Linked DNA regions of Homo sapiens: regions 2 and 3 are each linked to region 1. Evidence: promoter capture Hi-C in human tissues and cell types (Jung and others, 2019). All regions are on one chromosome and are shown on one strand. Each heading gives the region's core, a stretch centred on a gene start or on the middle of the fragment in contact. The rest is flanking DNA. Distances are from core to core; before and after follow the strand shown.

Evidence for each region. The method cuts DNA at HindIII sites, captures the fragments that hold promoters and counts their contacts. A contact is called where the count stands out against the background at its distance.
Region 2: a contact is called between a fragment that was not itself captured here and the fragment with the promoter of SCAMP3 in region 1, in 1 of the 25 tissues and cell types used here (lymphoblastoid cells).
Region 3: a contact is called between a fragment that was not itself captured here and the fragment with the promoter of SCAMP3 in region 1, in 1 of the 25 tissues and cell types used here (IMR-90 fibroblasts).

What each region holds. Positions count from the first base shown.
Region 1 is chr1:155,260,999-155,263,675 of GRCh38, forward strand. It overlaps SCAMP3 (secretory carrier membrane protein 3), which reads right to left and starts at 1,362. Exons shown (of 9, transcript NM_005698.4): 1 at 1,088-1,362; 2 at 659-736. The coding sequence starts at 1,153. CLK2 (CDC like kinase 2) reads right to left here. Exons shown (of 13, transcript NM_001294338.2): 13 at 1,870-2,402. The coding sequence ends at 2,220. The HindIII fragment of the contact is 10,284 bases long and covers 1-2,677 here.
Region 2 is chr1:155,709,553-155,712,229 of GRCh38, forward strand. It overlaps DAP3 (death associated protein 3), which reads left to right. Exons shown (of 13, transcript NM_004632.4): 2 at 221-272. The coding sequence starts at 228. Among named protein-coding and RNA genes, the nearest start is that of DAP3, 22 kb to the left of the region's middle. The HindIII fragment of the contact is 3,221 bases long and covers 1-2,677 here.
Region 3 is chr1:155,526,422-155,529,098 of GRCh38, forward strand. The region is part of intron 1 of ASH1L (ASH1 like histone lysine methyltransferase); the gene reads right to left. Among named protein-coding and RNA genes, the nearest start is that of ASH1L-AS1, 34 kb to the right of the region's middle. The HindIII fragment of the contact is 7,904 bases long and covers 1-2,677 here.

The DNA.
Region 1 (2,677 bases), core at 112-2,611:
CTCATCGAAGCCTCAAACTCCTGGGCCCAAGCAGTCTTTCCATCCCAGCCTCCCAAGTAGCAAGGACTACAGGCATGTGCCACTACACCTAGCCAATTTTTAAAACGTTTCAAGAGATGGGGGTCTCGCTGTTGCCCAGGATGGTCTCCATCAAATTCCTGGGCTCAAGCAATCCTCCCACCTCAGCCTCCCAAGTGGGATTACAGGCATGCACACCATGCTTGGCTTTTTTTTTTAAGTTTTAAGTACCATGAAAACCCCTTAAATTCTTACAACTCACCATCTTCTAATCCAGTGGGACAAACAGGTGTAGTCCTCCTCATTCCTTGCTTTCAAACTGCACACCTAACCTAAACTCCAACCAGCCCCAACCTTTATTTTCTTCAAGAAAGCCTTCCCATACAGAACATTGGTTAAGGCCTTGCCAGCCTCCAGATCTTCCCAGGACTGACTTTTAGAGCTCAAACCATTTGGGTTGGTGGCCCTGGTGGCCCTAGAAGGATGAGGCATCCCATGGCTGACTAGCCTCTCTCAGGGAACTAAGATCACAGTGCCTCTTCCTTCCTGTGCATGCAGAAAAGTCCCCTGTACCCAAGCTAACTTGTCTCACTGGCAAACCCTTCCCTTCCTTGAACTCCTATGCTCTCCAGTAGCTCACCTCCCGGGTCTCAAAAGGGTTGTAGACGTCAAGCGTGGCATACTGCCGGCTGGGTCGGTGCTGGATCACAGCTGGGTCCTGAGGGCAGAGACCCGGGTCTCAGCTGGCACCCAGTGCCACCTAGGGGAATTCCCAGGGACCATTCCCAAACTGCCTGTGGCTCCAAGTACTGCACCTTCGGGGCCACGCCGTTGTCCCAGGACTGGGACAACATTTACCTCAAATCCATCATCCAACACTGCCAGCACCAGCCCATTAAGGGGCAGGGCCCGCCCCCCAGAGTGCTCACTGGTCTGGAGTCACTGTCACCCCACGTGGCGGCTCTTCCCAGGATCAAATGTCACAAATGGGGATACAAGTTAGCCCGACCCTACAGAACCGGGAAGAATCAACCTGACCGCCCAAAAGAGGCCGACTGGCGCAAGTCACCTGAAAGGGGTTGTCAAGCTCGCTGGGCTCGGCGAACGGGTTTCCGCCGTCTCTGCTCTGAGCCATGTTTGCAACTGCGGCCTCCGCGGCCCTCTGCCCTCCACGCCCCTGCCGCAGCAGTGGCGGTAGCGGTAGCCCTCAGAGTCCACTTCACTCGCCTCAGTTCGCCCCGCTTCTCTGTGCACGGATTGGTTCCACCGACCGGAAGGGCCACAAGGATCCCCGCAGCAGCCGTGGGTTGCGCCTGCGTCTTGTCCAAAAGCTAAGACGAAAGTGCCCCCACGTGATACCTCTAACCCAGTGCCCACAACCAACTACCGCCCCTCTTCCATGTGACTTCCTTCCACTAACGAACTACACTTCCCAGCAGGCCTCGCGTAGGAATCCGGCCTTCCTAGTCTCCCGAGATGGACGACGGGAGCCTTCTGACCGGTCGTGGCAATCCCCCCTAGGAGCCAGGTTGAGCACGTTTTCAACCTGAGTTTCTGGCTCTATACTGGGCCGCGGCCTAATGACTCTAGGAGTCAGATCTTTCCCAACTCTCATAATTCCACATCCGAGAAGTGCCACCTCATAACACTTCTCTGTTTTAATCTGAAAGAAATGCTGCCCCACCCATCACTACCCTCCCATATGATAAGGTGGACAGGGGAAATAAACTGGTAGCCTGGCTGTGCTTCATTTTGGAGGGTAAGGAGGACTCCCTTCATACCCAAACTCAGAAAGTTTGCCAATAGTTTCATCCCTCCACCCCAGCATTCCCAAACCTCCAACTCCAGGGATGGGGGTCAAATGAAGCACGTTATTTTATTTCACAAAGACTGTACAAAATTCCTTATAAAACATGGGGTAGATGCCACCTGGTTACCTCACTCGGCCCCCATCCAACTCCGTATGAGGGGGCAGGTGAGGGTGGAAACTGTGTGGATGGAATAGTATTATGTACAAGGCAGGGGTTGAAGTGATAGGTACAAGTTCTTTCATATTTACACTATTTCACATATTCACAGGTATATAGAGAGCCAGGAGGAAGGAGTGAACTCTGGCTCGTTCTCTTGTATAAAAAAGCACCAGTGTCCTGGACTGGACACCCACTGCTATAAAAGATGCAGGGGGGCCCAGGGCCTGATCGTCACCGACTGATATCCCGACTGGAGTCCCACAACTTGTTGGGCGGCTCAGCCCGAAGGCGGGCGAAGAAAGGATGCTGAAGGGCTTCACCCAAGGTCAGCCGCTTAGCTGGTTCATACTCTAGCATGCTTTCAATCAGATCGAAGAGCTGGTGGTGTTCCTCTGCCTCTGAGGTCAGATACCGCTGGTGGAGGAGGGCAGGAAAAAGGTGAGGCAGGATGCCTTACAAACCCTGCCTTCTTCAAGACCCTACCTTTCATTCTTGGAGAACCAAGGCTCTGCTTGCAACCAATTTGAAGGCTACCTAACCACGACCACACCAGGACCAACGTTTCTGATATTATAGCTCAACCTACCTTCCCACTAGCACAATTACTCCATAATCTTTGAAAGTTCTTTCTACTTGTATATCCTTGTCAACTTCATGAATCTTCTTTAGTTCCTCATTAAAATGTAAGC
Region 2 (2,677 bases), core at 130-2,629, 450 kb after region 1:
AATCTTTTCATGGGTTCACTAGCCTTTTGTGTTTCGTTTTCTGTGAAATGCCTGTTCATGCCTTTTGCTCATTTTTTTAATGAAGCTGTAGGCATTCTTTATATATTCTAGATATTAATATAGATTATTAATCCCTATTAATCTATTGTCAGTTTTCCATGTTGCACACATCTTTTCCCATTTGTGGTTTACCTTTTCACTTTTTTTTTTTTTGTAACAGTGCAAGGATGATGCTGAAAGGAATAACAAGGCTTATCTCTAGGATCCATAAGGTGAGTCCTGACTGACCTGAACACTCTGTGCATACTGCCTTTAGGTTCCCAGATTCTTGTTTTCAGATGGATTCATTGTATCTAGAGTGAAATGCTCTGGAAAACTTCATATGTAACAGGTTTCAGTAGAATAATTGTGCTTGAGAATTTACCATGGAATAGGAGAATTAATATTTTTCCAGAAAACATAAGTAAGTTTGACTGTAATTATCTTTATTAACTTTATTTCTCTAGCCAACTAGAGAATGGTTATCATCCCTTAATGAAGTATTTAAAAGAAAAACAAGTTGCCAATTTACAGCTTTAGCATCTAAAATAGAATAAAAAATAAAATTGTACATGAAAAAGACCATTCTGCTGGTTTACTTCATTTTTTCACATATTTACCAAATAGTTTTTCAGTACTTTTTTTTTTTTTTTTTTGAGACAGAGTCTCGCTCTGTTGCCCAGGCTGGAGTGTGCAGTGGCGCAATCTCGGCTCACTGCAACCTCTGCCTCCTGGGTTCAAGCTATTCTTCTGCCTCAGCCTCCCGAATAGCTGGGACTACAGGCGCTTGCCACCATGCCCGGCTAATTTTTGTATTTTTAGTAGAAACGGTGTTTCATCATATTAGCTAGGCTGGTCTCGAACTCCTGACTTCGTGATCTGCCCACCTAGGCCTCCCAAAGTGCTGGGATTACAGGCGTGAGCCACTGTGCCCGGCCTTCAGTACCTTCTATATGGCAGGTACTCAGAATTCTAAGATGCCTCATTTCACTAATAATAGTTATTATTTGTTGGGTATTATTATGTGCCAGGTACTACACTAAGTGATTTATTTTTTTAATCCTCATGATCAACCCATGAACGAGATAATATCCTTGTTTCACAGATGGAGAAACTAAAGATGAGACTGGCTAGGTAACTTACCTGAGGAAATAGCCTGTGAGGTTGCAAAGCCCACACGAGATGCCAGGTCTGTCTGACTTCAAAGCCTGTGGCCTAACCACTGTGCTCTATTGCATTTTATGGTCCATGTTCTCCAGAAGCTTACAGTCCAGTAGAATCATGAAAAAATGACTATTTCAGTATGGTGCTCTTACAGCACCAAAGAGGAGCACCTGAGCGGGATTAGTCGAGTCAGCAGGAGATCCTGAAAGGCTCAGAACTGAGCCAGAAAGACTTGGTCATTTTCAGCTGATTATTTAATTACAGATTAGATTTCCTAGAAAAGGAGCCCTTCCTCCTATATGGCTCCCCCTGCATGTGCCCCCTTCCCTCAGGCCTATATATTAATACATAAAATAACCCATTATTATAAAATGAAACGAAAGCAAGGATCAGCAGAGGGATGGATTCTGGACTCAACTGATCATATTACAAGGCTAAAATAAATTTCCTCTCTCGGCCGGGCACAGTAGCTCATGCCTGTAATCCCAGCACTTTGGGAGGCCGAGGCAGGCAGATCACCTGAGGTCAGCAGTTTGAGACCAGCCTGGCCAACATAGTGAAACCCCGTCTCTACTAAAAATACAAAAATTAGCTGCGTGTGGTGGCACACGCCTGTAATCCCAGCTACTTGGGAGGCTGAGGTAAGAGAATCGCTTGAACCCAAGAGGTAGAGGTTGCAGTGAGCCAAGATCACGCCACTGCACTCTAGCCTGGGCAATAGAGCGAGACTCCATCTCAAAAGAAAAAAAAAAATTTCCTCTTTCTTAATAACAGACAACAAAGACCTGAGGCTAGACTGTAGAGTGCTGTTGGTGAGAGAAAGTTTTGTTTTTTTTTTTTTACTAGTTTGGTTCAGGGTGACTGTATTAGTCAGGGTTCTCTACAGGGACAGCACTAATAGGATAGAAGTATATATGAAGGAGAGTTTGTTAAGGAGTATTGAGTCACACCATCTGGCGAAGTCCCACAGTAGGCCGTGAGCAAGCTGAGGAGCAAGTAAGCCAGTCCAAGTCCCAAAACTTCAAAAGTAGGGAAGCTGACAGTGCAGTCTTCAGTCTGTGGCTAAAGGCCTGAGAGCCCCTGGCAAATCACTGTTGTAAGTCCAAGGGTCCAAAAGCTGAAGAACTTGGAGTCCAGTGTTCGAGGGCGGGAAGCATCTAGCTCAGGAGAAAGATGAAGGCTGGAAGACCCAGCAAGTCGGCTCATCCTACCTTCTTCTGCCTGCTTTATTCTAGCTGCCCTGGCAGGTGATTAGATGGTGTCCACCCACACTGAGGGTGGGTCTGCGTCTCCCAGTCCACTGACTCAAATGTTAATCTCCTTTGGCAACACCCTCACAGACACACCCAGGAACAATACTTTACAGCCTTTAATCCAATCAAGTTGACGCTTAATATTAACCATCACGGTGATCTTCTAGATTGGCTCACAAATGCTCTTTCAGAAACTGCAGGATGTTCATTCTGGAACTGTA
Region 3 (2,677 bases), core at 63-2,562, 270 kb after region 1:
ACTTCCAAATCATATTTTATACATCTTCTGTCTCTGTACCATCACAGCTAGTCTAAGAAAAACAATAACACTCAATGATCTCATTTTATATTCCTGACCACTAACTCCGAGTAAGCCCTTGGTGCTGCCAATACACTTCCCTAATCTATTCCCTCTACCACTCTCCTAAAAAACTATTTCATCCCATCTCCCCTTTCTTCATTGTCCCTAATTTTGCTTCCTATCTGATCACAGCAGTAGTCAGATAGGAAGCAGTAACAAACAGAAAAGTGCCACAAGTGCCCACCATATATCTACCTACCTTCCTACCTGTGTCTGTTCCTATAGTCTGACTGCCTTCCTATCACAATATATAAACGATCTCTCCTTTCAACCTCTTCATTTAGGCAACTATCTCCTTTCTCTCTCACATCATCCATTTCTCATATTTCCTCTGAATAATGCCAATAAGCCTGAAAACAAAAACATACTATAATATCTCTCATGGAAGAAAATTCCTCTTAGCCGAGCAAGATGGCTCACGCCTGTAATCCCAGCAGTTGGGAGGCCAAGGCGGGCAGACCTCACTTGAGGTCAGATACTCAAGACCAGCTTGGCCAACGTGGTGAAACCCCATCTCTACCAAAAATATAAGAAATTAGCCAGGTGTGGTGGCGCATGCCTGTAATCCCAGCTACTCAGGAGGCTGAGGCAGGAGAATTGCTTGAACCCGGGAGGCAGAGGTTGCAGTGAGCCAAGATGGTGCCACTGCACTCCAGCCTAGGTGACAGAGCGAGACTCCGTCTCAAAAAAAAAGAAAAAAAAAAATTCCTCTTGACTCCACATCCTCCACCATCTTCCCATTTCTCTGTTCCTCTTCACAACAAAATTGTTAGAATTCTCTATATTGTCTATTCTCCCTGACCTCCAATCCTTGCTTTTTCTCTTGAACATACTGATTATACTTTCACTGCCACCCCTCCATAGAAACTGCTAGTCAAGGTCACCAACAACCTCCACATTGCTAAGAAGAATGATCAATTCTCAGTCCTCTCATCTTACCTGACCTATCAACAGAATTTGGCACAGCTAAACAGCTCCCTCGCTACCTCACTTGACTTACGGGATACCTTTTTTTTTTTTTTTTTTTTTTTGAGTCAAGGTCTCTCTCTGTCACCCTGGCCAGAGTGCAGTGGCACAATCATAGCTCACTGCAGCCTCAAAATCCTGGGCTCAAGTGATTCTCCTGCCTCAGACCCCAAGTAGCTATTCCAAGTAGCTAGAAATACAGGCATGTGCCACCATGTCCAATTTTTTTTCACTGTTTTAGAGACAGGGTCTCACTAGGTTGCCCAGGCTAGTCTTCAAGTCCTGGCCTCAAGCAATCCTCCGACCTCAGACTCCCGAGTAGCTGGGATGACAGGCATGAGTCACCGTGCCCAGCTCTGGGACTCCTCTCTTGATTGTTCTTCCTCACTGGCTACTACCCTCTGTCTCCTTTGCAGGTTCTTTCCTTCCTCCATGACCTTTAAATACTGGAGTGACGCAGGGTACCCGGACCTCTTCCTTTTTCTATCTACACTCAGTTCCCAAATGACCAGATCCAGTCTTACGGCTTTAAATTTCATCTAACATTGATGATTCACAAATTTCTATCTTCAGATAGAGACTAGCTGAGACCTCTTTCTGGAACTTCAGATTCACATATCTAAATGCTTACTTGACATACTGACTGGATTGTGTAATAGATAGGCACTTAACATGTTTAAAATCAATTCATCTTTGCCCACTGCCCCAAATCTATTCTTCCTACAGGTTTCATTTCAAAATATGGTAATTCCAAAGAGAAATATTTAGGCCAAAAATCTCTACCCATCCTTAATTGCTTTTTCTCTCAAACCCCTCATGTCCATTTGGTCAGCTAAGTTTGTCAGCTTTACCTTCAAAATGTATGCAGAATCTAACCAGTTGTCATTACTCTGACAGCTATTAGATCCAAGTGATGATAAATATGTGAATGGATTATTGCAATAGCTTTTTTTTTTTTTAAAGAAAGAGGTTTATTTAAAGGAATTGCTCACATGATTATGGAAGCTGGCCAGTCCCAAAATCTGCAGGGTGGGTCAGTGGCAGGCTGAAGACCCAGGAAGACCCAATGTTTTCATTCTGCTGGCAGACTTGCCTCTTACTGAGGAGAGGTCAATCTTTTGTTCTGTTAATGCCTTCAGTTGAGTAGATGAAGTTCCTCCCCAACATTATGGAGGGTGATCTGCTTAACTCAAAGTCCATTGATTTATTGATTTTTTAATATATTTAACTTTTATTCTAAGTTCAGGGGTACATGTGCAGGTTTGTTACGTGGGTAAACTTGTGTCATGGGGGTTTATTTCATCACCCAGGTATTAAGCCTAGTACCCATTAGTTATTTTTCCTGATTCTCTCCCTCTTCCCACCCTCCACCCTCCAATAAGCCCCAGTGTGTGTTGTTCCCCTCTATGTGTCCATGTGTTGTCATCATTTAGCTCCCATTTATATGTGAGAACATACAGTATTTGATTTTCTGTTCCTGCACTAGTTTGCCAAAGATAATGGCCTCCACTCCATCCATGATCCTGCCAAGTACATGATCTCATTTTTTTTTTGTGGCTCCATAGCATTTCATGATGTATATGTACTACATTTTCTTTATCCAGTCTAC